Linked DNA regions of Homo sapiens: regions 2, 3, 4, 5, 6 and 7 are each linked to region 1. Evidence: promoter capture Hi-C in 16 types of primary human blood cells and fetal thymus (Javierre and others, 2016). All regions are on one chromosome and are shown on one strand. Each heading gives the region's core, a stretch centred on a gene start or on the middle of the fragment in contact. The rest is flanking DNA. Distances are from core to core; before and after follow the strand shown. Region 1 holds the start of HSDL1 (hydroxysteroid dehydrogenase like 1). Region 2 overlaps MEAK7 (MTOR associated protein MEAK7). Region 3 overlaps CDH13 (cadherin 13). Region 4 overlaps MEAK7 (MTOR associated protein MEAK7). Region 5 has its middle 15 kb from the start of HSBP1. Region 6 holds the start of ATP2C2-AS1 (ATP2C2 antisense RNA 1). Region 7 overlaps ATP2C2 (ATPase secretory pathway Ca2+ transporting 2).

Evidence for each region. Contacts are between HindIII fragments. The CHiCAGO score rates a contact against its expected background, and 5 or more counts as called.
Region 2: a fragment that was not itself captured here is called in contact with the fragment with the promoter of HSDL1 in region 1 in 8 of 17 cell types (M2 macrophages, M1 macrophages, total B cells and 5 more); the score reaches 8.0 in M2 macrophages.
Region 3: a fragment that was not itself captured here is called in contact with the fragment with the promoter of HSDL1 in region 1 in 1 of 17 cell types (total CD8 T cells); the score reaches 5.4 in total CD8 T cells.
Region 4: a contact is called between a fragment that was not itself captured here and the fragment with the promoter of HSDL1 in region 1, in 2 of 17 cell types (M2 macrophages and megakaryocytes). The highest score is 5.7, in M2 macrophages.
Region 5: a contact is called between a fragment that was not itself captured here and the fragment with the promoter of HSDL1 in region 1, in 3 of 17 cell types (neutrophils, naive B cells and total B cells). The highest score is 5.3, in neutrophils.
Region 6: a fragment that was not itself captured here is called in contact with the fragment with the promoter of HSDL1 in region 1 in 2 of 17 cell types (M2 macrophages and M0 macrophages); the score reaches 7.8 in M2 macrophages.
Region 7: a contact is called between a fragment that was not itself captured here and the fragment with the promoter of HSDL1 in region 1, in 4 of 17 cell types (M2 macrophages, endothelial precursors, megakaryocytes and 1 more). The highest score is 8.4, in M2 macrophages.

Annotation. Positions count from the first base shown.
Region 1 is chr16:84,143,451-84,147,381 of GRCh38, forward strand. HSDL1 (hydroxysteroid dehydrogenase like 1) reads right to left here and starts at 1,727. Exons shown (of 6, transcript NM_031463.5): 1 at 1,630-1,727. DNAAF1 (dynein axonemal assembly factor 1) reads left to right here and starts at 1,858. Exons shown (of 12, transcript NM_178452.6): 1 at 1,858-2,114. The coding sequence starts at 1,991. RefSeq lists silencers at 1,152-1,201, 1,252-1,301, 1,462-1,911. The HindIII fragment of the contact is 7,366 bases long and covers 1-3,931 here.
Region 2 is chr16:84,500,723-84,504,653 of GRCh38, forward strand. MEAK7 (MTOR associated protein MEAK7) reads right to left here. Exons shown (of 8, transcript NM_020947.4): 1 at 3,879-3,931. Among named protein-coding and RNA genes, the nearest start is that of MEAK7, 2.0 kb to the right of the region's middle. RefSeq lists an enhancer at 3,347-3,847 and a silencer at 3,678-3,727. The HindIII fragment of the contact is 627 bases long and covers 1,884-2,510 here.
Region 3 is chr16:83,798,562-83,802,492 of GRCh38, forward strand. CDH13 (cadherin 13) reads left to right here. Exons shown (of 14, transcript NM_001257.5): 14 at 1-2,079. The region is part of intron 2 of CDH13-AS2 (CDH13 antisense RNA 2); the gene reads right to left. Among named protein-coding and RNA genes, the nearest start is that of CDH13-AS2, 3.4 kb to the right of the region's middle. RefSeq lists a silencer at 3,672-3,831. The HindIII fragment of the contact is 354 bases long and covers 1,706-2,059 here.
Region 4 is chr16:84,480,514-84,484,444 of GRCh38, forward strand. It overlaps MEAK7 (MTOR associated protein MEAK7), which reads right to left. Exons shown (of 8, transcript NM_020947.4): 6 at 2,079-2,197; 7 at 16-195. Among named protein-coding and RNA genes, the nearest start is that of ATP2C2-AS1, 15 kb to the left of the region's middle. RefSeq lists an enhancer at 2,750-3,251. The HindIII fragment of the contact is 7,713 bases long and covers 1-3,931 here.
Region 5 is chr16:83,821,377-83,825,307 of GRCh38, forward strand. No RefSeq gene overlaps it. Among named protein-coding and RNA genes, the nearest start is that of HSBP1, 15 kb to the left of the region's middle. The HindIII fragment of the contact is 6,129 bases long and covers 1-3,931 here.
Region 6 is chr16:84,463,680-84,467,610 of GRCh38, forward strand. It overlaps ATP2C2 (ATPase secretory pathway Ca2+ transporting 2), which reads left to right. Exons shown (of 27, transcript NM_014861.4): 27 at 1-508. The coding sequence ends at 53. It overlaps ATP2C2-AS1 (ATP2C2 antisense RNA 1), which reads right to left and starts at 3,682. Exons shown (of 3, transcript NR_146503.1): 1 at 3,625-3,682. The HindIII fragment of the contact is 1,340 bases long and covers 981-2,320 here.
Region 7 is chr16:84,444,887-84,448,817 of GRCh38, forward strand. It overlaps ATP2C2 (ATPase secretory pathway Ca2+ transporting 2), which reads left to right. Exons shown (of 27, transcript NM_014861.4): 16 at 1,443-1,544; 17 at 3,647-3,803. Among named protein-coding and RNA genes, the nearest start is that of ATP2C2-AS1, 21 kb to the right of the region's middle. The HindIII fragment of the contact is 223 bases long and covers 2,513-2,735 here.

The DNA of each region.
Region 1 (3,931 bases), core at 477-2,976:
AAAAGAGGTATGACTGTTAATGGGGTTGGGGTTTCTTTTGTAGGTGATTAAATGTTCTGGAATTAGTTACTGGTGATGGTTGCATAGCATTGTGACTATAGCAAGAACTACTGAGTTATACACTGTAAAATGGCTAAAATGATAAATTTTATGTCATGCGTAAGTCATTTCGATTTTTGAAAACCTACTTTAAAAAAAAGTAGCACCAATATGTTCAACTCTGTTGCCCTAGAATATTCCAGCAGTGATTAAAACCACAAACTTGGCCGGGTACAGTGGCTCATGTCTGTAACCCCAGAACTTTGGGAGGCCAAGGCGGGCAGATCACTTGAGGCCAGGAGTTCAAGGCTACCCTGACCAACACAGCGAAACCCCGTCTCTACTAAAAAAAAAAAAAAAAAAATTAGCTGGGTGTGGTAGAACGTGCCTGTAATCCCAGCTACTCGGAAGGCTGAGGCAGGAGAATCACTTGGGCCCGGGGTGCGGGATGGCGGGCAGAGGTAGCAGGAGCTGAGATCGCAGGCACCATTGCACTACAGCCCGGGCGACAGAGCGAGATTGTCTGAATCAATCAATCAATCAACACCCTCCCCCTCCCCCTCCCTCTCCCTCTCCCTCCCTCCCTCTCTCTCTCTCTCTCTCTCCTGTGGCGGTCAGAGTAAAATTGAGAGCTCACTTTATGCAAAAGACTCTGCTAAGTGCTTTATTCCTATTGTCTCACTTTATTCTCTCATTAATCTTATAAAGCGCAGTCAGACTCTCCCGTTTATAGATGGGGAAATTGAGTCTTATAGATGTAAAGTCGCACACCCAAGACCCCACAACTCAGAAAGGGGCTACCTGCAATTCAGATGGAGGTATAGCAAGGCGCAGAGTCCTGTCCAGGGAGCCCACTGTGAGACCCCCCGACTGCCTCGCAGTCACCTGTACACATCATGTTGGGATCGCCGAGGGGCGCTGCAGCGATCCGGTTTCTGGGGCTGCGTCTGGGTGGCACGTTCAGAACGGGGACCTGCCTGGTTCTTCTTCCCAGCCCTTCCCCTCCAGCACCCGGCAAGGCCCAGTCAACACGAGCAAACTCGGAAATCCTGGCTGAACCCACGACCGCTGCATATTTCCATTTTAGAAAAACACGGCAACAACAACTCAAACCAAATCGTTCAGAAATGAGAATAAAGAAGCACCGACAAAGGAGGCGATTGCTGGGGCCGCTCGGGGGAGGAGCCGGGTGAGAGGCTGCAGGGAGGGCAGGGCATGCGCCGGCGACAACGGGGTTCGCGGTTTGGGGGGCAAGGCCCGGGGGAAGAGAGAGAACAGGGGTGCAGCGCCGCGGCGGGGGGCGTGAGGATGGAGCCGGGGGAAGGGGGGCTCTGAGATGTGAAGGGGCGGGGCTGGGGCTTTTTGGTCTGAAGGAAGGAGTCTCACGGGACGGAGGGACGAAGATTTCCTGGGGTCAGGGGCGCCAAGGGGCTTCGGGGCCGGATGCAGCGGAGGGGGCCCGGGGCCTGGGGGGCGTGGTGAGAGCTCAGAGGGGTCTCGCCAAGCAGCCGGCTGGCGCTGAGGGGACCGAGGAGGGGTCTGGGGCGAAAGGACCGCGAGAGGGCGCCCAGGGCGCGGGGGGCGCGGTACCTGCAGGCCGGCAAAGTCTTCCAAACCGGTCCCGCCAGACCCGCGCGGCCGCCGCCCCCGTCTCGGCCGCCGGAGCTGCTGCCGCGCCGCGCCCTCACGTGACCCGCGTACGCGCCGGGGGCGGAGCCGTCTCAGACCCGCCCCCACCCCCCGGCGTCCCCAGCGCGCCGGTCCGTCCCGAGTGCGCGTGCGCAGCGGTTGCCTGGGCGACCGGGGAAGCGTTGGGCTGTAAAGACTAGGGCGCCAGCGGCTGGCGAAGAAGGAAAGAGGGTACTCTCTGGCTGGGCTGGGGCCGTAGCGACGTCCGCCGCGAACCTGGGCCCCCCAAAGCTGCGGGGCGTTCGGTGTCGCCGAAGTAAACATGCACCCTGAGCCCTCGGAGCCTGCGACAGGTGGTGCAGCAGAGCTGGATTGCGCGCAGGAGCCCGGCGTGGAGGAGTCTGCGGGTGACCACGGGAGCGCAGGCCGAGGGGGCTGCAAGGAAGGTGCCGACTGCCCCCCAGGGAGGGCGGTGGGCGAGGGGCAGACACGGCTAGGCGCTCCAGCCCCCTTCCCACACCACATACCCGATCTTCACAGCCAAATAATAACAATAATAATAATGGTAGCAAGCAACGCTCTGCAGTAGGGGCTTCTCTCGCCATTTCGTACTGAGGAGGAAACATACTTAAGAGGTTACAAAACTTGCACCAAACAGATAACCCTCGGCTAGTCAGTGACAGAAGAGACTTGGCCGGGTGCGGTGGCTCAACGCCTGTAATTCCAGCACTTTGGGAGGCCGAGGCGGGCGGATCATCAGGTCAGTCAGGAGTTCGAGACCAGCCTGGCCAACATAGTGAAACCCTGTCTCTACTAAAAATACAAAAAATGAGCTGGGCGTGGTGGCGGGCGCCTGTAGTCTCAGCTACTTGGGAGGCTGAGGCAGGAGAATCGCTTGAACCCGGGAGGCGGAGGTTGCAGTGAGCCAAGATCTCGCCATTGCATTCCAGCCCGGACGACAGTGGGAGACTCCGTCTCAAACAAACAAACAAACAAACAAGCAAACAAAACCCACCAGACTCAGGCCCAGACAGTCTGGGTCTCCAGAGCCCCAGCCCTAACCCACCACGCTATTCTCCCTGGTCCCAACTTTGATGCTTTAAATGTGTCCCTTTATTGCTATCACTATGTAAGATCAAAGGCTTTCTCTCCCTCCAGACTGCATGTTGTGTCAGGGCAAGACATCTTGATTGAATTTGGAGTCTAGTCCAGTGCCTGACCTAGGGTAGAGAGTCCGAATGAAGACTTGGTTCTGGGGTCAGTGTGTGATCCCCTCACCAAAGTTTGCCAGAATGGACTTGAAAGATAACCTTCATGGCCAGGCACGGTGGCTCACGCCTGTAATCCCAGCAATTTGGGAGGCAGAGGCAGGTGGGTCACCTGAAGTCAGGAGTTCGAGACCAGTCTGGCCAACATATTGAAACCCTGTCTTTGCTAAAAACACAAAAATTAGCAGGGCGTGGTGACGTGCTCCTGTAATTCCACTTACTTGGGAGGCTAAGGCAGGAGAATTCCCTGAACCCCGGAGGCAGAGGTTGCAGTGAGCCAAGGGGGAGGCTGAGGCTGCAGTGAGCCAAGATCACACCACTGCACCCCAGCCTGGGCAATGGAGCAAGACTCCGTCTCAAAAAAAAAAAAGGAAAGAAGGAAGCCTGGCTTCAGCTTCTGCTCCCACTAGACTTGGTGCCCTAAAGGAAACCTTTTAGTGATTACATTAAAAAACCACTTGATTTGTGTTCCAGTTTCTGAACGCAGGCAACAAATAAACCAGCTGATTTGTGTTCCAGGCAACAAATATATCTTAAGCATCAACTGTCCAGATGAACCTTGTATGAGGAGCCATAGGGAACTGGCATTACTCAGTGGAAAGACACTGGTCTTGGAGCCATTGACACTGGGTTCAAGTTGAGGCTCAGCAGCTGGCCAGCTTTATGGCTGTTGGCCCAGAGCTTAACCTCTCGGAGCCTTAGTCTCCTCATCTGTAAGCTGGAATAATTATACAGGAGTATAAGGAGAGAATTATAATTAAATGTCCCAGCATATAGTGGGCCATTATTAAATGGTAGCTCTTGTTATTAATTACATATTAATATTTATATATTGAGCGCTTATTCTTTATTTTTTCCACAAACATTTATCTGTTGCTTCCTGTGGCTGGGCATTCTATGCAAAATTGATGAGTTTAAGAACCAGTCCCCACACGCACAGCCTTTAGTCTTGTTCAATAGACCACACAAACACAGAAAGCAGCAGACAACAGCTC
Region 2 (3,931 bases), core at 947-3,446, 360 kb after region 1:
TCCAGCGGCAGGCGGCTGTCCCCAGCTCTGAAACAGAGGGGCTGCACCGGCTGAGTCTGGGTGCTGCAGGGACACAGCCCAAGCAGCCAAAACAAAGCAGACCCACCCTCTGCATCAACTCGAAGAGCCTGCAAGGTGGGCCACACCATCTCCTGAGGTCAGGAGTTCGAAACTAGGTTGGCCAACGACATGAAACCCCATCTCTACTAAAAATACAAAAAAATTAGCCAGGCATGGTGCTGTGCACCTGTAATCCCAGCTACTTGGGAGGCTGAGGCAGAAGAATTGGTTGAACACGGACAGCGGAAGTCGCAGTGAGCCGAGACCACGCCACTACACTCCAGCCTGGGCAACAGAGTTAGACTCGTCTCAAAAAAAAAAAGAAAAAAAAAAAAAAAAAAAAGAGGGGAAACAGAGACAAGGGCATGGGGATGGGTGTGGCCTGGGGGTGTAACAAGAAGAGTGAAGAGTGGAAAAGGTCCCAAAGGTCACATTCCAGCTGAGTCTTCAGAGACTCACAGGTGATTCACCAGGAAGTGGGAACAGCACGCACGGGGCATAAGCAAGAGCGTTGGGATCAGCGAGGCAAGGGTGGAACTCAGGGCACGTGGGGGAGGGCAGCAGAGGGCTGCAGCAGAAGGGGGCCCAGGCCTGACTCCACCCAGCCCCTCACTTCCATCCCACCCCAACTCCCACTTTCTGCCAGAAACAGGCTCCCCCACTGTGGTCGGAGAACAGCAGCAGGGTGCAGCCTGGCCAGCCCTCACCAACCCCAGACAGCCGGGAGAAAGGTGCAGGGCTGGGCAAGTGCCAACAGGCAGGACAGGAACCCAGAAATGCACAGAAGCGGCGCAGACCAGGGCAGGCCCAGGAGATGACAGGAAAGGCTTGGACGCAGAGCCAGGCTGGCAACGCCACTTTTTCAAGCAGGAGAGAGGAGGTTGCATGGGAGGCCCCAGTAGGAACCCCAGGGCTGGTGCCAGTGAGGTGGGAAGGTGGGCAGCCCCTAAGAACACAGCGCTGTCCACAGCACTGCCATTCTTAGTACCTGCAGAGTGCTGGTGAAGGGACACGTCTCAGAACGGCTCAAGGACAGCCCGTCTCCTTTGAGAGCCCCGTGCCAGGCAAGATAAAGAAATGGCAATGGTGTGGTGGCTCACGCCTGTAATCCCAGCACTTTGGGAGGCCGAGGCGGGTGGATCTCCTGAGGTCGGGAGTTCGAGACTAGCTGGACCAACATGGAGAAACCCTGTCTCTACTAAAAATACAAAATTAACCGGGTGTGGTGGTGCATGCCTGTAATCCCAGCTACTTGAGAGGCTGAGGCAGGAGAATTGCTTGAACCCAGGGGGCGGAGGTTGCAATGAGCCAAGATCATGCCATTGCACTCCAGCCTGGGCAACAAGAGTGAAACTCGGTCTCAAAAAAAAAAAAGACAATGCACGCTGGTGCTGGTGCTGACAGCGCACATCAAGGTTGCTTGTACCAGTGGAGCTCGACTGGAGCAGTTTCGTCCCCCAGGGGCATTTGGCAATGACTGGAAAAGTGTGTGGTTGCCACAACTGGGGGAGGGGAGTGCCGTTGGCATCTAGCAGGCAGAGGCCAGGGATACTGCTAAAAATCCTACAGTGCACAGGATGGCCTTACGACGAGGAAGTGTCCGTCCCAGACATCGGTAGGGCTGAAGGTGAGAAAACCTGGCTTCTGAGGATGTAGGGCAGCGGAACAAAATGGAAGCGGAACTTGATACAAGGGAACCCACAGAAGTCTCGAGGCCAATGTAGGGTTGTGTTATGCACAGCTTTGCAGAGAAGAGGCCACCCCATGTACCCAGGTGTACTGTGAAAGTCCCATGACACCGAGAAAACTTGCCAGGGACTGAAAGCTTTCCATCATCAAGCCTATAATCCCAGAACTTTGGGAGGATCATTTGAGGCCAGGAGTTTGAGACCAGCCTGGGCAACATAGTGAGACTTCGTCTCTGCCAAAAATACAAACCTCAGCCGGGTGTGGTGGCGTGTGACTATAGTTCCAGCTATTCAGGAGGCTGAGGTGGGAAGATCGCTTGAACCAGGAGGCAGAGGTCGCAGTGAGCCAAGATCACAACAGTGCACTCCAGCCTGGGTGACAGAGCAAGACTCTGTCTCATAAAAACACAAACAAAAGTTCCAGCAGCCCATAATAAGTGACCAAGATGTTTTGCTTGACCAGACTTTAGTCAGGCTCCTGGGCCCATCTGTGTACCTCTTTGTAAAATCTGGTTTTAGCAAAACAAAAAACAAACAAACAAAAAAACCCACAAAACCACTCATCCTTGATATTTGATCACCATTATCTGTTCACTTGCTATCTAACCAGGTTTAATGCTTAGGTTAGGGATATCCAATCTTTCAGTTTCCCTGGGCCACACTGGAAGAACTGTCTTGGGCCACACATAAAACCCACTAACAATAACTGATAAGTGCATATATCTACATATATGGTAAAAAAAAAATCTCATGTTTTAAGAAAGCTTATGAATTTGTGTTGGATGTCATTCAAAGCCGCCTTAGGCCACATATGGCCCACGGGTTGGACGAGCTTGCCCTAGGTGATGTCTGATCACCCTGGCCTGCCTTCAGTAACAAACTGCTAGGTAAGCTTACCCAGAATCCACCCTAGCGCCCTGATGTTTCCTCAGTCATCTTCCATCCACTGATCCCCACCCTGCTTCCTGGCTTCCCACTTGCCCATGCTATAATCAGAGTTGAGCCCAATCTCTCTCCTTTACTACAAAATCCCATTGCTGTGGTCCCTATACCCATTGCAATGGTCTTCAATAATTAATGTGCTTTTAATAAGCATCATTAATTAATTTCTTTAACATAAGGTTGAGAAGATTAAATAAGGTAACCCAGGGCATTTGATCTGCTTACTGGAGGTCAGAGACAGAATAATGGGCCCAAGACAACAGAGAATGGCTCCTTGGGATCTTGTCTTAGAACAAGAGAAACTGCCCTGCTTGGAAGAAACGGAAGGTTGCTCTGCCTCCGTGATGGAGGGGTGGACAGGGACCGATTGTCTGCAGGATGGCCCCCAAGGTTCCCACTAGTATCCTAGGAATGGCTTAGTCACCTCCTGCTCAGAGCTTCTCCAACAGGCTGTTACATGGCTGCTTCCCACCCTGGCTGCCAAGCTCCAACTCTCTACTCCAAGGGCCCCGCATCCCTAGAGCCACACAAGGGTCCCTCCGTACCCCCACAAGCTGGGGAGATTCCAACTGCCTCATCTGGACAGGCTTCGAAGTCCTGTCTGTGTCTCAGAGCCCAGAGGCCCTTGTGCGAAGGGGCAGCTTGAGCCTGGGCAAGAAGTTCCTGTGGGCCAGAAGGTGACCTGTCCTGTGCTGGCCACCTACATGGCCTGGGAACAGTTATCAGCTCACTGTCCTGGAAAAGCCCAGATGGGTGTGGTCAGAATACAAGAAGGAAAACCCCCTCCACACACACTTCAGTGTCTACCCCAGACTCGCCTCCTCCGTGGAGGCACCCCTCCCTTTCCGCGTCTACACAGGCTCTGAATCCCCCTTCAACACGGCTGGCCTTGGCCCTGGGGGAAGCACCTCGCCACCCTCTTACCTTGACCACATAAACAGCGGGAGGTGCAGGATGATTCTGATCCCCCCCAGGAGACCCTCCCTCCATCCCGCCCCGCTGTCCCCACCCCTCACCTCCCCGCAGCCTTCACCTCTCCCTCCCCCGACCCGAGGGCCTGAAGAGGCGTGGGAGGCCAGGGAGGGGCAGGGCCCAGGCCTACTCTGGACCCGTCTGCTCCAGTCCCCCGACTCAGCTGGGCCTGCGCCTCTGGGTCAGCTCACTGCGAACCTCAGCCCAGGTACCTACCCTGCCGGGCTTCCTGGTGCTGTCCGGTCCGGTCCAGCAGCCCACGGGCTCCT
Region 3 (3,931 bases), core at 633-3,132, 340 kb before region 1:
CCCAAGGTAAGTGGCCTCCAGAACCAAACCTCAGGCTATCTGGCTCCAGGGTTCATGTTCTTCCGACAACATCACAATGCCACTCTCAACCCAGGAGCAAAACCAGACAAAGTGCCTACTGCAGACCGGAAGACCCTCGTTTGAAGCCTCCATTAGCGTGACTATGCAGCTAGACCAACTTACTGTTAAGCAACAGTACCTTTTACTATGAGGTACCCTTTACTATTAAGTACCTTTTACTAACAGTATCTTCTGTTACCTATTATTAAGTTCATGCTATACTTCTTCAATCTGAAAGCTTTCTGTTAAAAAAAAAAATGTTAACATCGTTCTAAATTAATATTGAGACCTTAGAAATTTTTCCTGTGCAAGATAACGTAATTATTTGCCCCTTCCCTTCCATGGCTTGTTAGCAGGTAGATGAGGGGCTTCTCCTAGATTAATTTAACATCTCAGTTAATCAAAAGTAGCCGGGCATGGTGACTCATGCCTGTAATCCCAGCCCTTTGGGAGGCAGAGGCGGGTGGATCACTTAAGGTCAGGAGTTCAAGACCAGCCTGGCCAGCATGGTGAAACCCTATCTCTACTAAAAAATACAAAAATTAGCTGGGTGTGGTGGTGCACACCTGAAACCCCAGCTACTCAGGAGGCTGAGGCAGGAGAATCGCTTGAACCCAGGAGGCAGAGTTTGCAGTGAGCCATTGCACTCCAGCCTGGGCAACAGAGCAAGACTCCGTCAAAAAAAAAAAAAAAAAAAAAGAAAGAAAAGGAAATTTATGAACTCCAGAGTACCCATTCACTACCAAACCAACTGAGGGGAGAGAAAACTGAGGGAGAAAGTGGGGTGGGGTCTCAAAGGGTTTGCACTGTGCTTTGCTATAAATCATTCAAAGGGGCAAATTCTAAAGGATCTCTAAGTAGTTGCTGATTTTGTAAAGGTAGCCCATAAATCTGTTTACGTGTAGCTGCCTTAAACATGAGTCAACAGGGTAAGTCACACCAACAGGAAACCCAAGCACTAAAAAAGCCACCTACCTTTTCTGTTTACCAAATACTAAGAATAATAATCTAATAATCTGGCTACATCTTTCATAAAGACCTCCATCTTCTCTCCTTAACTGACTGTTGAGATTTGATAATTTTCACAGTCTAATGATAAAATGCTTTCAAAATGGTTCATCTAACACAATTAACAATTCTTTTACTATATGCAATGTGTTACCCTTACTATATTTCCTATTGCTAATAGATTAGCCCACTATTGAAAAAATTCTGCAGTTGTGACCGTGTTCACATGAAAGCATATACAAGACATGGAGAGACAGCAAAAAATGGTGGGAATGGGTGTGTGTATGAGGGTTTCAGATAAGAACTTCAATTATATAATTTAAGAAGAGTCAGTCTATAATTTAAGCAGAAATAATTGAGATACTCATCAAATTAAGTAAGCGGAAAAATTTCCTCTCTCTCATACTATGTTGCTATCATCACATCTATCGTTGGAGGGTTGCTGAGCTTGATACGCCTTTGAACCATTTTATTTGACTTTCCACGTGCCGTCTCATTGGTAGGGAGATGGTGAAAAGCGTTGGGTGGTGTAGGACGAGGGAGGTTTTCACTCTGAAGCTATGAAGATTTGGAGAAAGGGGCTTATAGAAGCACTATGAAAATAAACTGGAGACTATTTTTTTGCTACTTTTTAAAAAGCTTTTTCTTTAGAGAGTACTAAAGCCATTCTATATCTGTCGTACACATGAATTCAGACTATTATTAGAGAGTTATATCTGTGTTGTCATGCACATGTCAACACTGTCCTGATGACAAAATTTTATGTATCCCCCCAGATAAAAATTTTAAGAAATTTTAAATGCTTTTTATTCACACACACTTTTCAAAAGGGATAAAAGTTAATCATGTTAAAATATTCAGTCTATGGCAGATGTCGCTCCTTTGGGCCCTCACTGCTGAATTGCTTACAGTTTCTGAGCTGTAAACTAACATTTGCTTTACTATGTAGTTACAGAGAAATGTGCAACTTGTTTGTGAAACATTCAAATAAAGCTTATCTGGGATTTTTAACTTGTGTGTTTAGTCTTAGACCATCTTTAGTACAGTCTGGTCTAAACACTGTGACAGAGCAAAGGGACCTTTTTTTCCAATGGTGCACAGTGTCATGGGTGCAACTGGCTGGTGCCGGTGTTGTGGATGGTAAAAGAATTTACCGGCAGGGCGTGGTGGCTCACGCCTGTAATCCCAGCACTTTGGGAGGCCAAGGCGGGCAGATCACCGGAGGTCAGGAGTTCGTGACCAGCCTAGCCAAAGTGGTGAAACCCCATCTCTACCAAAAATACAAAAATTAGCTGGGCACAGTGGCGCATGCCTGTAATCCCAGCTACTCAGGAAGCTAAGGCGGGAGAATCGCTTGAACCTGGGAGGCGGAGGTTGCAGTGAGCCGAGATAGCGCCGCTGCACTCCAGCCTGGGTAACAGAGTGAGACTCTGTCTCAAAAAAAAAAAAAAAGAAGAAGAAGAAGAAGAAGAAGAATTTACCAATTTACCAAGACAGTTGTAGGTAAAGAAAGGCTGATTATTCAAGGGAAAGTACGTTGCAAGGAAGCAACAGGCAGCACAGCAGAGAAGGGGATGTCTGGAAAGAGGCAGGGGCTGGAGGGAAGTTTTATAGGGTTGTGCTGGAGGATGTTACACTTGGAGTGAGGTAGTTGTGCCAGCGGCTTGTTTGTGATTAGCTGTCTCTTGGAACAGTTGTTCCCTACCTGGGACCCCCCTTCCTCATTGTTGCTTACTTATCAGGACTCCACACCAGGTTAGCCTATGATGTTTAAAAACCAAGACTAAAACCAAGTGCTGCCTGCTTAATAATTGGCTCTCTTCTGCTTCTTTCATAAAAGTCAATCATTCTGATTTGGAAAAACAGATATATAGATGATAGAAGGATAGATGGATAGATGATAGAGAGAGAGAGATAGAAAGAGAGAGAAGATAGCAAGAAGGTTAGTGAGATCATTTTGTAAAAAAAGGAGGGGGCCAGATGTGGTGGCTCACGCCTGTAATTCCAGCAATTTGGGAGGCAGAGGTGGGCCGATCACCTGAGGTCAGGAGTTCAAGACCAGCCTGGCCAACATGGAGAAACCTCGTCTCTACCAAAAATATAAAACTAAGCCAGGTGTAATGGTGGGCACCTGTAATCCCAGCTACTCAGGAGGCTGAGGCAGGAGACTCTCTTGAACCTGGGAGCCGGAGGTTGCAGTGAGCCAAGATAGTGCCACTGCACTCCAGCCTGGGCAACAGAGCAGAGCAAGACTCCAACTCAAAAGCGAAAAAAAAAAAAAAAAAGGGAAGGGGGTATTCGTTAAGTGCTTCCTACGGGCCGGATACTTTACGTATCTATATAGATGTGTATATACATATTACCTTGTAGTTATATTTGTAATTTATGTGTAATACATAATTATATATCATATACATAATTTATGTAATAGACATTAGCACCATTCTATAGATGAAGAAACTGAGGTTCACACAGTTAAAACTATCTCACAGTAGGTCTCACGACTACTAAGTGATATGCATGGCCCCACCCTGGCACTTTTCTTGCTATATGCTAAGGCAGCACCACCCCATTTATCTCCAGGAACAAACTGTGTCATCACAAACAATGCATGAAAGTGCTGAGGACTAAGCAAGTTGTCAATGATGGGGGATGAAGCAGAGGAAACCCAAACTTGCAAATCTGGTCTATAAGAAAACTTTCCTTCCCCCTAGGCAGTCTGTCTCCAGGAAACTGCTAGTTTGGGTAAATAAATAGCAAACGGATGCCTTGGCAGCCAGTCATAGAGACGCTAATTTGGAAATTTGCCTCAAAAGAACATAAGAAACAGAAACCAATGCTTCAATCCGAAAGCAAGAGAACG
Region 4 (3,931 bases), core at 616-3,115, 340 kb after region 1:
GACAGCTCCACTCACCAACTGCTCCTCTGAGGGGTCTCCAACCGCCCACACCTCCATCTTATCAAACTGGAAGTTCTCCTGAGCCGACAGCTGCGGGCTGTTGTACGTGGTGCACGTGGGCTTGGCTCTGCTGTGTCCTTTCCCAAAATCAACATCCACCCAAAGCCCAAAGTAATTGTGCTGCCCCCCCATACCCTGCAAAGGAAGCCAGGACAGAGAATAGCATCAGCAACTCCTCAGGGTCTGTGGACATCAAATACCACAAGCCAGCCTCTCGCCTTAAGTACCAGCCTGAGACAGGGGCGGGTGAGTGGTGAATGCCATCATCTTGTTTTCCTTAACTGTGAAATATATCAATTACTGCCATTTAAGCATCCCATGCCAAGTTACTAGAACAGTCATCTATGTCTCCAGACACCCACCCCATGGCTCTTTCTCAAGAAGATTTGCTGGCTGAAAGCACAAGTGACATCAGAGAATTAAAAATGTTAAATATATATAGAGAAAGAGACCTCCAGGGCCCAGGGCCCCGCCCAGTTAAGATAAGGGGAGAGGTGAACACAGAAGCTGACACTGCAAACCCCCTGTGTTGGGGCCCCAGTGCCCCGCTTCCGGGCAGCGATCCTCACCCCAAGACAGGCTGGGAAACTCAGCTCCGAGTGTGTGGCTTACAGGATGCGGAGGCAGACCCGGAGGCGGATGCGAACCCCTGTGCCTTCCACCCTCAGTCACATGGCTGGGCTCTGAGCTGTTCAATCTCACCCTGCAGAGAACCTCCTCTGGTCCCTGGTAGGCCTGTAACACCTGGCACGCCCTAGTTCTGACCTTGGGCAACCAGAGACCCGAGCACACTGCCCAGAGTTGACACGCGGAGCCGCTCTCTCAGGGCCAATGACGAGCGATGACCGGGGCCTGCCGGGTGCTGCCTGTGAGGCTGGCACCCTCACTCCTGCCGCCACCAGACCGCCCTTTCCAGAAGGTGCCAGGTGTTCTAGGTGGCCTGGCCACGCCCCTCCCTCTCTCCAGGGCAGCAGTGTGGTAAGCCTGGGAAGGACGCTGGTCCCTATATCGGACCAGCCTTCTCTGCCCTCAGCTCTGCAGAAACAGGGCTGGATTTTCCCAATAAGAGCTTTCTGTCAGCTGGGCGCAGTGGCTCACGCCTGTAATCCCAGCACTTTAGGAGGCCAAGGCGGGTGGATCACGAGGTCAGGAGATGGAGACCATCCTGGCTAACATGGTGAAACCCCGTCTCTACTAAAAATACAAAAAAATTAGCCAGGCGTGATAGCGGGTGCCTGTGGTCCCAGCTACTTGGGAGGCTGAGGCAGGAGAATGGCGTGAACCTGGGAGGCGGAGCTTGCAGTGAGCCGAGATCGCGCCACTGCACTCCAGCCTGGACAAGAGTGGACTCCATCTCAAAAAGAAAAAAAAGAAAAGAAAAGAGCTTTCTGTCAAGCAGCAGAGGAAAGAAATCAGCAGGGGAGCTGGCAGGAGCAAGCTGAGCTTCGGCGTGGATGCTGCCCCAACTCCTGCCCTCGGGCCTGCCTGGACCCGTGCCCACCCACTCCCTGCACCCGGCCTAGGCCTCCCCCGCTTCCCCCTGCTTCCTGTGCCATGTCACCAAGCTGAAGCGAGGGCTGGACAGGAGCCACGGTCACCCCAACTGGGGCCCCACATGCTGTCTCATGAGCTGCCGGCCGTCCATTCCCCTTGGTCCAGCACTCCCACGTATGAGGCAGGCCAGCGACGCGCAGGGACAGGTCTGGCGCTGACACCATCCCTAGCCACAAAGGCTACAAACCAATCATCTGAGGGCCAGAAAAATGGGCCAAGTGTGCCATCTGCACACAAACCACTGAGAAGCCCCAGCAGAGGCCACATCCTTCTCTAAGGGAAACCCTGGCCCAGCTGTCACTGCCCCCAGCACCGGCCCTGGAAACAGAAGGAACTGGACATGGCGTGCGTGAGGAACTGAATGCCACGCGCCCTGCCCTGATCTGTGGAGCTGAGCCTCGGGGTTGACACCTTTGCTGGGGGACATCACCAAGGCAAGACCACCACGCTCTGCCCGGGCTCACCAGTCCGTTCGGGATCGTCTGCTGTCCATGGTTCAAGTACATGTAGTGGTCGTTGTAGCCCGTGTGTGTGTACACAGCCATGCTGGGGCAGATGGAGAACAGGAAGCATCTGTTGTCCCCTGAAAGTAGCCAGAGAACAAAACAAACAGGGTCGGTGTCTGAGCCGGTCCCACAGGGCCGGAAATGCCGGTAAGCTGCAGCTCAGGAAGCAACAGGGCCAAGACCCTTCTCACCCATGTCCAGGTGTCGGCAGATCAGGGTTTGGGACAAGCTGCTAGGGACCCAGGTGGATGAGCTGGGGATGCAGGGATTAGAGGGACAGCTAATAAGGAATGGGACATCTTTTAGCTCTGGCCAGGGGAGCAGAGATCAGAACTCTGCCCACTGTCTGCTGGAATCAGTTCAGGCTGGCCAAGCACATCCGAGCCAGAAAGAGCAGGCTTCCTTTAGCTTATGAGCACGGGGCAGGTGGTCACTCCGCAGAGACTGAGGCCTCCAGCACAGCCTACCTGAGCAGGCAAGTGACGCTGCGTAGTGCTGACCCCGGCCTGAAAGAACGTACCATGCAGAGAGAGAAAACCTGCAGCTGCAGAGCTGTCCCCAGGGGCACGGCCTACGAAAGGAAGTAGTTTACCCTCGCCCAAAGGCATGGGGTGGGCACACAGGCCATTAAAAGAAAGGTACCAGTCAAAACTCTGGAAACTATGGGTCCCCAGTCTCAGAGACTCCTCCACTCCATAAGCACCTCAGCACTGGGGACAGGGCCGTAGGCCAGGCCTCGTCCTCGGAGCTCCCAGCGAGGGACACTTCCCACCATGTTCTGAGGACTTGGCCGGAAGGGCTGCCCGCCTCGACACCAGCATACACAACTGTCACAACAAGCTGGAAGGCTGCAGAGAAACAAGCTCATGGGAATTTGGGGTTGGGCTATTCATCAGGTGGGAAAGAAGTCACAGGAAGCAAATTGGGGGCACCATGATGGAACGCAGATAAGAAGGGGGCACCAAGACCAGGAGGCTGGAAGAGGACGATGGCCCCGAGCAAGCCAACAGGGCTCAGTCTGTAGAGTGTGGGCTGACACCGCCCAAGGCTCCAATCTAGAAAGATCGCTGGGGGGCCTCTGCCATCAGGGTCTGGGAGGCTTCTGGGAGGCAGCTTCCGAGGTCAAGAGGGAGGCCCTGAAACAGAGCTGGCTGGGGCAAGAGTCCCCATGGAGAAGGGATCCCATGAGGACAAGGTGTGGGACAGGTACGGAACAGTGGGGCTTGAGAGCATCGGGTGGAGGAAGGAGGATAGTTAGGCTAGAAAGTTCCACTGGAACCAGCTAAGTGAAGGGCTTTACTCTGGGCTACAGACTCAGGCTTGCTTCACTGGGTTTCAGCAGCCCCAGAGGCTTGAGGGCAGGTTTAGACGCCGCCATGAACAGCTGGGTCACACCCGTCTGCACTGCCCCCGCCCCGCTCTCCCCGACTGGACTTCAGGTAAGCGGCCCTTTGCTTTGCAATCCTGAGCCCGTCTTGCTGCGGAGCAAGGTCGCAGGGCCACAGAGTTCAGGCCTCAGCTGCGATAGGCCCAGATCCTAGTCCACCCCCAAGGGCTGTTCTCCATAGGGAAAGCCAGGAGGGGGAAGCATCATTCCCAGAATACAGGGCAAGGACCTGATGAGTTATGATTATCTGTGGAAAAAAGTGACACCAACAACGAGGACTCCTTATCTCATTCCCATAAAACAATACCCAAGCGTGCGGCCACCAGCACCTGACGCTCGGCCGCCGAGGAGCTGCCTGCCCACACAGCATGGTTTCGTGTAATTCTGAGGAGCTGAGGCCCAGAAAATGAATCAATCACCTTGC
Region 5 (3,931 bases), core at 840-3,339, 320 kb before region 1:
CATGAGGTCCCACAGCTGACCCACCTCCTCCTGGGTGCTTTTTGTTCTTTACTGATAACGTTGATACAGTCGGATTCCAGACTAAGCTGGGCTCCAGAGTCCCCCTGTGTCTATGGGCTGCCTGCAGAAGAGAGGAGTAGAGGGCGAGTGGACGGACACAGTGCTCTGCTCTAAGACAAGGCATTGGTTGTTTAGGGTCAAGACACAGAAGCAACAAGCAAGGAGGACTGTGGGTGTTGACACCAAGGGCAGACCAAGGTCATGCTGGGCCCTGCAGCAGCGACTCTGCAGACCTCTCTCGTGCTCCACCATTACCCTGTGTGTGACTGTCCTGGGGCCGCCCTAACAAAGCTCCACACACCGGGGGCCTTAAAACAGCAGATATGGGCCAGGCGTGGTGGCTCACACCTGTAATCCCAGCACTTTGGGAGGCTGAGGCGGGCAGATCACGAGGTCAGGAGATAGAGACCATCCTGGCTAACACGGTGAAACCCCGTCTCTACTAAAAAATACAAAAAATTAGCTGGGCATGGTGGCGGGCGCCTGTAGTCCCAGCTACTCGGGAGGCTGAGGCAGGAGAATGGCGTGAACCCCGGAGGCAGAGCTTGCAGTGAGCCGAGATGGCGCCACTGCGCTCCAGCCTGGGCGACAGAGTGAGACTCTGTCTCAAAAAAAAAAAAAAAAAAAACAGCAGATATGTGTCCTTTCACGGTCTGGAGGCCAGACATCCAACATCAAGGGGTGGGCAGGGCTGTGCTCCTTCTGGGGCTCTAGGGAGGGCCTTCCTTGCCTCTTCCAGGTCCTGGAGCTCCTAATGGTTCCTGGCGGCTCCTAGTGGTTCCCAGCATCCCGTGGCTGGCAGCTGCATCACTCCCATCTCTGCATCCGTCATCACATGGCCTCCCTCCCTCCGCATGTCTGTGTGTCCTCACGTTCTGTTCTCCTCTCCATGTGTCTGTGTCCAAGTAAACTTCTTCTTATAAGGACCACAGTTGTTGGATTAAAACCCACCCAAATCCATGATGACCTCATCTTATCTAGTTATATCTGCAAAGACCCTAGTTCCAAATAAGGTCACATTCACAGATCCCAAGGGTGAGGATGTCAACATATCTTCTGCGGGGGACACAAGTCAAAGGACAACTCTGTGCCTGTTTTCCCAGCCCACATACCTGAAACCACCAAGCCACGTGTTAGGTACAGAGAGAGGCTCCCACTGGCCCCATTCACCCTTGCTCATCGGAGCGGCTCGCTCCTGTCTGTACCTGATCACAGGCACCATCCGTGCTCTCCCTTTATCCTGGCGTGCGTGTCCCCTCCCGGGCTCCCTTTGTCTGTGTATGGGTTTTGCCATTGTCCTGCAGACTCTGAAGACCCCTTTTTTTCCCCAGTTTTCATGAATTCATTTGGACTATCTCATGCTGCCTGGCTTGGCATCTTATAGCCAGCTTTTTAAAAGCAATCATAGCTGGTACATGAAGGGTTGATCTGGTGTGACGAAATTAAGCCTTTTTTTTTTTTCATAAGCAAATAAATTGGGAATTAAATTAGGTCCAAAATTCATCTGAGGCTTCTGAGAACTTGTTTGCAGAAAGCAATTGCTCTGGGACTGGCAACATTAGTAATCAAAGAGAAGCTAAAGAAAAACAGAAAATTGAAAAAAAAAAAAAAAGGAGGGAAATAAATTTGAATCAAGTTCATTTTTTCCAACATTTTATTTTGAAAAATTTTAAACATTCAACAAAACTAAAAGAATTTCTACAGTGAACACCTGCATACTACCTACAGTCAACTACTAACATATGACTCTGCTTGATGTATGATCTTTCTGACTCTGCCATGGCACAGGTCACAAGAGACTGCCAGGAGAGGAAGGTTCCAGGCTCGCCCTGAGAGGGGCCAGTGTCTCAAAAGCAAACTGTCCTCAAAGAACCTGTATTATCAACATTCAAAGCCCTTCAAGAGGCCAGCATTGCCATCAGAGTCCTTGTGGAAATATCCATTTTTCCCTGGCAGTAACACCAGCAGCCAAAATTTGTTTTAAAAATTATTGCACCGGCTGGGTGCGGTGACTCATGCCTGCAATCCCAGCATTTTACGAGGCAGGTGGATCACTTGAGGTCAGGAGTTCAAGACCAGCCTGGCCAACACAGTGAAATCCCATCTCTACCAAAAAATACAAAAATTAGCCAGGTGTGGTGGCTCATGCCTGCATAATCCTAGCTACTTGGGAGGCTGAGGTGGGAGAATCACTTGACACCAGGAGGTAGAGGTTGCAGTGAGCTAAGATCGTGCCACTGCAACATAATGAGACCCTATCTCAAAAAAAAAAATATTGCACATTCCTTTGTGTCAGTTTTGTCTCATGACTAGTGTGGTAAAATTTGGCTACCTACTATGTATCTGTTTATTAACGTGTGCAGTAGGTTTAAATATTCTTACAACTGCTTACATGAAATAATAATTGAATAAATAGAATGCTTCCATACTCTGCAGCCCATGATTCTGAAAATCGTCTAATGGGCTGCACTGGCTTCTCTGGGCTGACCTGGAAACATTGTCATCTTCACAAGTTCTGTACCAGCACAGTGCCCGGCACGAAGTAGATGCTCAGCAAACATTTGATCATTGGATAGATGCATATCCTGGCAAGCTGTGGTCGGACAAAAATAAATAAATAAATAAAATTTTTTTAAAAAAAGGATCCTATAGAGTCAGTATCAAAGGTCTGCTGTTGTACTGATTGGGGGGAAAGATCTCAGGATCTCAGGATGTCATCTTGACTGAAGACAAGACTGACTCGGGTAACAGTGCCATTTGCTCCTTGAATGCATCTCTCACTCCGGACTGAATATTCAGCTCCCTGCAAATCCCTATAAGGTGATTCAGGAACCAAGGGACAGGAAATTCTCTTCAGGATATTTACATTCTTTATCACTTGCTTTCAGCTGCAAGTGGCCAGTAATCTACCTCAAGGCACTGAAGCAAGAAAGGGCATTTGTTGACACTTGGAAGCTGGGGTTTGGGGGTCAATTCAGACATTGCTGATCCAGCTGCTCAAATTCATCAGGAATGGCTGCTGCCACTCAACTCTACCATCCTGTATGATGCCTTGGCCACCATGGAAAGATGGCCACAAGCAGTTCCAGCTGCATTCAAACCCCTCAGGCATCAACCCCTGGACAACAACAGCTTCCCTGGTTGTTTCCCAAAGTTCCCGCAAATGTCCCAAGGTTGCATCTCCTTGGTCTGATTTGGGGTATATGCCTATCTCTGAGCCAGTCACGGAAGCCAGCCAAGAGGAGTGGAATAATCTCATCGGCCAGGCCTGGTTCAGCACCCTACACTGAGACCAGGCATGGGATTAACCCACTCATCAAAGAACTGGAATTGAGGATGGGGGAGAAGAGCTACCTAAGTGGGATCAGGTGCTATTTACAGGCTACGTAAATTTAAGGCTCACCAAGCTCCAAATATTCAGGAAGGTGCACCTAATTTCCAAGTCTTTCCCACTCTCTCTCCCTCTCCAGCCAGCCCCAGGTAGCTTCCCCCATTGCCTGGCAAACTCCGAGCTCCTAGTCTGACGCCAACATGGAACCCAAAGGTGAGTCTCTTCTTCTTCACGACTCAGTTTAATTCTCAGCATAAGCCCTCCAGTCAATTCGGTGCTCTAAAAAGTTGGAAAACATTTATTAAACACCCACTGAATGCCAGGAACTGTGCCAGGCCCTACACCAATGGTGCTGTATTCTACCTACTCATTAGAATCACCTGGAAAACTTTTACACACAGCAATGCTAGGGCCCCACGTGCAGCATTCATCATGCCCACATCATTAGTATTTTGCCAAAGTCCTCCCTCCCCTGGGTGTCCAGCCAGGGTGAGAATCCCGGCGTTAGGAAATAAGACGCATTATCCCGTACGTAATGGA
Region 6 (3,931 bases), core at 401-2,900, 320 kb after region 1:
AAAAATACTGTTGCAGCCCCAAGAGAGTCCAGATGCACCCTGAAGATGTGTAGTGGACCGCACTCCGCGGCACCTTCCCTAATCATCTCGATCTGGTTGTGACTGTGGCCCCTGCCGTGTCTCCTCGTCAGGGGAGACTTTTAGGAGGCCGCAGCCTTCCATCACCGGATCAGTTTTTCCTCTTAGGAAAGCTGCAGGAACCTCGTGGGCTCCAGGGACCCAGGCCCACATCCATCCAGCGTTCCCGCTGGCTGTGGGACAGACAGGGAGGGGCCTGTACAGAAACACCACACTGTTTATTAAATCACAATGATTTTTATTAACCATGTCTAACTACGTATCTGTGCCACAGCTTGCAGTGAGGCAGGCCACTCGTGGCAGATACAAGGGGCTCCTGAGAGGCAGTGGGTAGGATGGTCACACTCTGCCCATTGCCCTCCTGGAGGCCCCATTTCCTCATCATAAAATGAGGGACTTTTAAATAAAGTGCTATGCCGGGGGATAATTATTTTGATGTGTTTACCTAGGGTTTTTCATACAAGGGGCCAGGTTGGAAACCCACAGCCATGTGTTAATGGCCACGTGGGGTGAGCAGCAATCCATCATGAATGGCCTACAGGAAGGCCTCGGCTTTTGGACATAAAGAGTAGGGCTGGGCATGGTGGCTCACGCCTGTAATCCCAGCACTTTGCAAGGCCAAGGCAGGCAGATCACTTGAGGCCAGCCTGGCCAACACAGCAAAACCCTGTCTGTCTCTACTAAAAGTTTAAAAAAAAAAAAAAAAACAGTTGCCAGGCGTGATGATGCACACCTGTTAATCCCAGCTACTCGGGAGGCTGAGGCAGGAGAATGGCTTGAGTCCAGGAGGTGGAGATTGTACCACTGCACTGCAGCATGGGCAACAAAGCAAGAGTCTCTCTCAGAAAGTGGCCCTTCTCTCCGGAACCAGGAACTGTAGTATCTCCTGCTGCCTGCAGACAAGCTTGATTTCCCACTGCCCCAAAGACTTCCAAAAACCGATCTGCTCTTCCACGTGACAGATGGCAGAGGAGAGAGGTCTCCATGCTGTTCTTCTGCCTGAAGCCACGCCAGAACCACCAAAGGGAACCAGAAGGGGAACTCCGTCCCCATCTCTCAGGAAATAAGGCCAGAGCTAGAACCCCCCATTTACTAGTCAGGCCTCACTAGAGAAACAGAACCAACAGGATGGAGGGAGATGCAGAGATTTGTTTTAAGGAACTGGCTCATAGGATGTTGGGGGCTGGCAAGTCTAACATCTTGAGGGCAGGCCAGCATCCTGGAGACCCAGGGAAGAGCTGGGGATGCAGGCTGGAGGCAGAATTTCCTCCTCCTCAAGGGAGTTCAGCCTTTTCCTCTTATAGTCCTCAACTGATCGGATGAGGCCCACTCACGTTATGAAGGATAAACTGTTTGTTTTACTTCAAGTCTACGGGCTTACATGTTAGTTACACAGCGCCATCTAGACCAGTGTTTGTTTGACGAAAATCAACTTGGCCTGGCCAAGTTGTCAGATAAAAGTACCCGTTGCACCCAGCCACGGTAGCTATGAAAAGGGCTACCAGGGGTGGTAACAGCTGGGTCAGACGAAGATAAGGAAGGTCAGAGTGGACCCCTGCCAGGGTTCCAGGCAGAGTCCAAAGTCCTCCATAGTAGGATTCACAGCCTGGGAAGAAGCCCCTCTCTGGCTACAACCTGTGACACCAGGGCCACAGGAGGAGATGCAGCGATGGGCCATTCCTAGTGAGACACAGACACAGGGCTGGCTGGAGAAGAAACCTTTTGAGCTGTGGGGCTGTCTTCCTAGAAGCTGCCAACCCCTGGAACCACTAAGAGGTCAAGGCTGAAGTGTGCCACTTCCACAGTCTGCTAAGGAGTGCCTCCCCCTGAGTCAGGGACAATTCTTGCTCTACTTTTCAGGATCCTTGGGCACACTGCTGGCCCGAGACATTTACTTCCCATTTAAAATTAAGTAATCAAAATACCAGGGTCGATTACTCTGAACTCTTGCTTATGTAAACTTTAGGGATAAAACTGTAGTAAGACACAAAATGCTAACAATAAAATATAAATTAGACTACATTAAAACTAAGACCTTCTTTTCATTAAGGACACAGTAGACTTGAACACCACCATTAAGCAACTTAGCTTGATTTACACTTGTAGAACACCCCATTCACGAGTAGCATAGAAACAGTCACCAAAATAAAGAGCAGAAATCAAACGAAAAAGCAAAAATAGAGGAAAATCAATCAAAACCTAGTTTTTCGAAGAGATCAATAAAACTATCAGTCTTGCAATAAGCTTATCAAAGAAAAAAGGGAAGAGAAATGACCAATGTCAGGAATGAAAAAGTATATCACCACAAACCCTTCAAGATATTCCAACAATAATAATAAATAATACTATGTACATCTTTATGTACCTAAATTCAATCAATTGGATGAAATAAACCAATTGCTTGAAAACCAAAAACTACCAAAACTCACTGAAGATTAAATAGATAAGCTGAAGTTGAAACCCTTCCAAAAAAGGCAGTTTCTGAAGCCAGATGATTTCACTGGTGAATTTTACTAAACTTGTAAAGAAATGGCAATTCGATACACTGAATTCCAAAAATAAAAGGGGACCGAGCACTTCTCATTTTATAAGGTCAACAATCACTCTGATACCAAAACTAGAGAAAAATACTAGAGACCAACATCCCTTATGAATATATGCACGAAAATCCTCAACAAAATATGAGGAAATCAGATCTAGCCAGGTACGAAGAATATAAGACACCAGGACGAAGTGGGGTTAATTGAGGAATGGAATTCAAGCATTCCAAAGTTCAACATTCAAAACCAATATAACTGAAAAGTTCAACATTCAAAAACCAATATAACTCACTATATTAATAGTCTGAAGAAGGAAAAACACATGGTTATATCAATTAATGCAGAAAAGGCATTTGATAAAATTCAATCTCCATTTGTAATAAAAACTCTCAAACTAGGAATTGAAGGAAACTTCTTCAACCTGATAAAGAACATCTACAAAAAACCTATAGCTAACATCATACTTAATGATGAAAAACTGAATTCTTTCCCCACAGGATAAGGTCCAAGGGTGACCAGCCTCACCACTCCTATTCAGCACAGTATTAGAAGTCCTAGCCAGTGTAATATGGCAAGAAAAGTTAAAAGGCATTAGCAAAGAGCCTGGAAAGGAGAAAATCACAGATAACGTAATTGTCCACACAGAAAATCCCAACAAATCTTTTTAAAAAAGAAAAACCCTCGTAGAATCAACGAGTTTAGTAAAGCCACAAGATACAAGGTTAACACACAAAAAGCAGTCGTATTTCTATATATTAGCAATGAACAACTGGAAACTGAAATTTAAAATTGAATACTATTTGTCTGTCTCAAAAAAAAGTATCAATTCTCCCGAGATTGTTGTATTAGGTTTAACACAATTACCATCAAAATCCCAGGGTTTTTTTGTTTTTGTTTTTTTTTAAGACACAGATAAACTTGTTCTAACAAGCTTGGTATGATATTGTTATCAGCAGACCTATTTCAATTTCACTGGTTTTTACATAGTATCTGATGTTAGGCAAACCTGAGTTTAAGGGCACAGTGCTCCAGGTGGCTGGCCAAGTCTGCCCAGGCCTTCTGATACTGACTGCAGGTCCAAGAGTTTCCCACAACCACCTTCAGGTTGGATGATTCGTTGATGAGGCACACAGAGCTCACTGACACCTGTCATGCTCACAGCCATGTCTATTACCAGGAAAAGATACAGATTAGAACAGCCCCAGGGCTGCAACTGCAGAGACTGGTCACCCTCTCCCTCTGAGCTCAACAGTTTCTGAGTCCTGAGTCTTTCTAGCCAATCACTGGGTCTGAGAGTGGTTTCCTGCCCCCCA
Region 7 (3,931 bases), core at 1,374-3,873, 300 kb after region 1:
GCTCTAAATGGCACTGAGGCCAGGCCAGTGGTTCCCGGGCTTTTCTTCCATTATTGCTCCTGGATTAGGGTCTTGGGGTTACTGAAATAAAACACCACTGGCTGGTGATTTAGTGTAACCAAAACACACTGAAACACAGCTCTGTGGCCAGAAGTTGAAATCAAGGTGTGAGCAGGGCCAGGCTCCGTCTCCCAGTTTCTGGGTGTTACTGGCAGCCCCGGGCGTTCCTTGACTCGCAGACGCATCCCTGCCTTGGTCTCTCACACCAAGCTCTGTCTCTGTCACGAGGTGCTCCCCGCCACGCCTCTGCGCAGCGTTTTCCTCTTTTTTTTTTTTTTTTGAGACGGAGTCTCGCTCTGTTGCCCAGGCTGGAGTGCACTGGCTTGATCTCCGCTCACTGCAACCTCCGCCTCCCAGGTTCAAGCGATTCTCCTGCCTCAGCCTCCCAAGTAGCTGGGACTACAGGCGCCTGCCACCACGCCTGGCTAACTTTTTGTATTTTTAGTAGAGACAGGGTTTCACCATGTTAGTCAGGATGGTCTTGATCTCCTCACCCCGTGATCCACCCGCCTCGGCTGCCCAAAGTCCTGGGATTACAGGCATGAGCCACCATGCCCGGCCTTCCTCCTCTTATATCCAGTCATGTTGGCTTAGGGCCAACCCTAATAGCCTCAAATTGACGATATCTGCAAAGGCGCTATTCCAAATCAGGTCACATTCAGAGGTTCCGAGGTTAGGACTTCAACATATCTTTTGTGGGGTACAATTCAACCCCACTAAGGAGATGGTTTAGGCATTTCTTCCCTAATCACCCCACTCCCTCCCCATGAAATTTAATATGGTAGATACACTGTATTGTACGCATATCTGCACTTTCTACGTAAAAGGAGTAGTTTTTTGTGCCCCTGCTGCACCGCATTTTCACCCCCTGTGGGACAGTGGGATGCATGGGTCATGACTGGTTTACACCTGGGGAAACTGAGATTCTGAGTTGTCACATCACTGATCCAAAAGCCACCAAAGAGCAACAAAGGGCCAGGCTGGCAAGGACCCCAGGCTGTGGACGGGGGGCTGGCAAGGACCCCATGTTCTGGACGCAGGGCTGTCTCACTGACTCAGGGGGTTCCGTCTGAGAAATTGCTACACCTTCAAGTCTGAAACATTCCTCCCGGCAGAAACACTGCAGGTTTGTTTCTAAGCAGATTTCAGATAGAAGCTGTTGCAAAGACCGTCTTGTCTGCCCTTCAGCCAAGAGAAGAGACTTTTTTTTTTTTTTCTAGGTGGGACATTCCAAGAGAAATGGCCTTTTTTCTATGTGCTAAATGCTTGGATTTCTTATCTGCCAGAGGTGGTTTGAACAATGAATAATTTAAATGGACTGAGCTTTGTATAGAGATTGGCTTCGGATGACTCACTAAAAATGTGTCATTTTATTATGCTAGATGGACTTAAGTGATATTAAAAATTCATATATAAGAAAAAAAGAGATTCCATTCAGTTCAGAGCAGAAGTGGATGGCGGTGAAATGCAGTCTGAAGACTGAGGTGAGACCTTTCAATCTTCAACCTCTTCTCTCTTTCTGCCCGGGCCCCCACCCAGAGATAAAGCAAAATGCAGACTTCAAGGATAATTTGAAAGTTCCTGGCTGCTTCTGTGACGTTCCAAATACATGGAAAAACTTAATCACCATCATACCTTTGATTCTCTTGGGTCTGCTTCTGGCTTTTTGTTTAAAACAGAAGTTCTTAAAGCAGGGTCCCTGGAGTAGCAGCGGTTGTTACCACGCGAGACTTTATTAGAAATGCAGAATCTCAGGTTCCATGCCAGACCTCCTGAGTCGAAGGGTCCAGGGGTGGGACCCAGTAACCTTCATTTTCTGCAGATTCTGATGCAGGTGCAAATGTTGAGATCGACCAGCCTGTAATCCAGTGACTGAGGCCCTGCTGCTAACACCAGTCGCCAACTTGCCAGTCCTCTCTTTGCAGCCCTGTGCTAAGTTTTTTATACTTCTTAGCTCATCTCCCCGTCATACTGGGGAGCAAATCCTTCAGTACGGAAGGCGTGTCTGTGTGGTGCATCAGCGTGTGCACACGTGTTGTCCCTGGCTAGAGGAACACATACCAAGCTATGGCCACCCCGGGTGGACATTACAGCTGATTTTTAAAATTTTCTTTTCAGATTTGTTGTGGCTTTTCAGATTTTCCTTAAAAGCTATTTTTTAAAGTTTTTGTTGCCTTCTACCGTTTTCTCCACCCCTCCTCTTCCCTCCCACTCTTTCTAGAATCTATCATGTCTGCCCACGCAGACTGCTCAGCTCCCACTCAGGGCTGTGGGCAGCTCAGCCAGCTCATGCCAGGCCCTTCCTGTGCATGGATGGACACATGTACATTTCAGGGGCTTAGAAGGGATTATAGATTTTCAAAAAACTTTTAGACCTTTAAATCTTTTCCCTTGCAAGGCAATGGTAATATATTCTCATTGAAAAAGTATAGAAATATGACATAAAAATGAAAGCTTCTTTCATTCCACCCTTCTTCCCTCCCTCCCCACCACCCACCCAGAGGTAATTCTATTTTAAGTCTGGGATGGAGCATTGCAGATTTTAAATATGCAAACGACAACATCTGGATGGTATTTTCAAAACAAGGTCACTATTTATAGTGTGTGTAATTTGCTTTTTCCCCCTAAGATTTTCTTTTAATATTATGTCTTAGATGTCTGTGTTGGTTAATATAAGCTTGTTATATTAACATATTAATTATATAATATGTAATATATATTACATATATTACATATATTATTTAATATATATTATGTAATATATATTATAATTGTATAAGAATATATTAGTTATATATAATATATAATATACATATAAATAATATAATGTAATATAATACATATAAATAATATACAATACATATGTACTATAATTAATGTATTAACATCTGTAATTAATATTATATTTATTAATAACATTAATATGTTAATTACATATTAATAACATATATAATTAATATTATATTATCTTATAACAGTGTTACATTCACACTGTGCACCCACGTGAGCCAGGTATGTCCGGTATTGAGGCTAGGGGTACAGTGTGACTCTCACTGACCCAGGGCCTCCCCCCGTGGAGTTCATAGTCTACATGTTTGTCATGACAGAGCTTAAGAAAAACACAGGAAAAATGATCAGCTACTCATGTGGCTTCACTATTACAAGCCAAGTGCTGGGGGTGGGTACAAAATAGACTTGGTGCTGCCCTAGGGAGGCAACAGTCTAATGGAAATATTCCCAGTTAATCACACCCCCAAAGGCACAGTCCCAGCTGGGATGATACCTCCCGTGCATGAAACATACAAGACGCTCTGAGTGACCATAACAAGGGAACTGAAAAAAGAACAAGGGTAGTACAGGTTGAAGATTGGCCTTGTTCTTTCTCTGGACTGCAAAACGTTCCATGGATGGATTCTAGAACTTCGCGAACCTGTCCAGCACCTGTGAACAGCACCAGCCTATGATAAATAACTCCGCTGCAAAGATCCCCGTGTGTGTCTTTGTAACCTTGTGCAGAGTGGGGTGATGGTCAGTATGAACCAAGGCTTCCAGTGATAGTGGATTTCTTCCCTTTGTCTTTTCTAAGGATCAGGAAGACATTTACTTCATGAAAGGGGCCTTGGAAGAGGTGATCCGCTACTGCACCATGTACAACAACGGGGGCATCCCCCTGCCGCTGACGCCCCAGCAGAGGTCATTCTGCCTGCAGGAAGAGAAGAGGATGGGGTCGCTCGGTTTGCGGGGTCAGTGCCTGTGGTCCCGGCCCAGAGCTTTAAGCTTGCATGTAACATTGACTTTTAAGTGCATTCAAGCAGGGTCCCTAGTCAAGGAGGTCACCCGTCCCAAGGAGTCAGGCAGCATGCTGACGGCA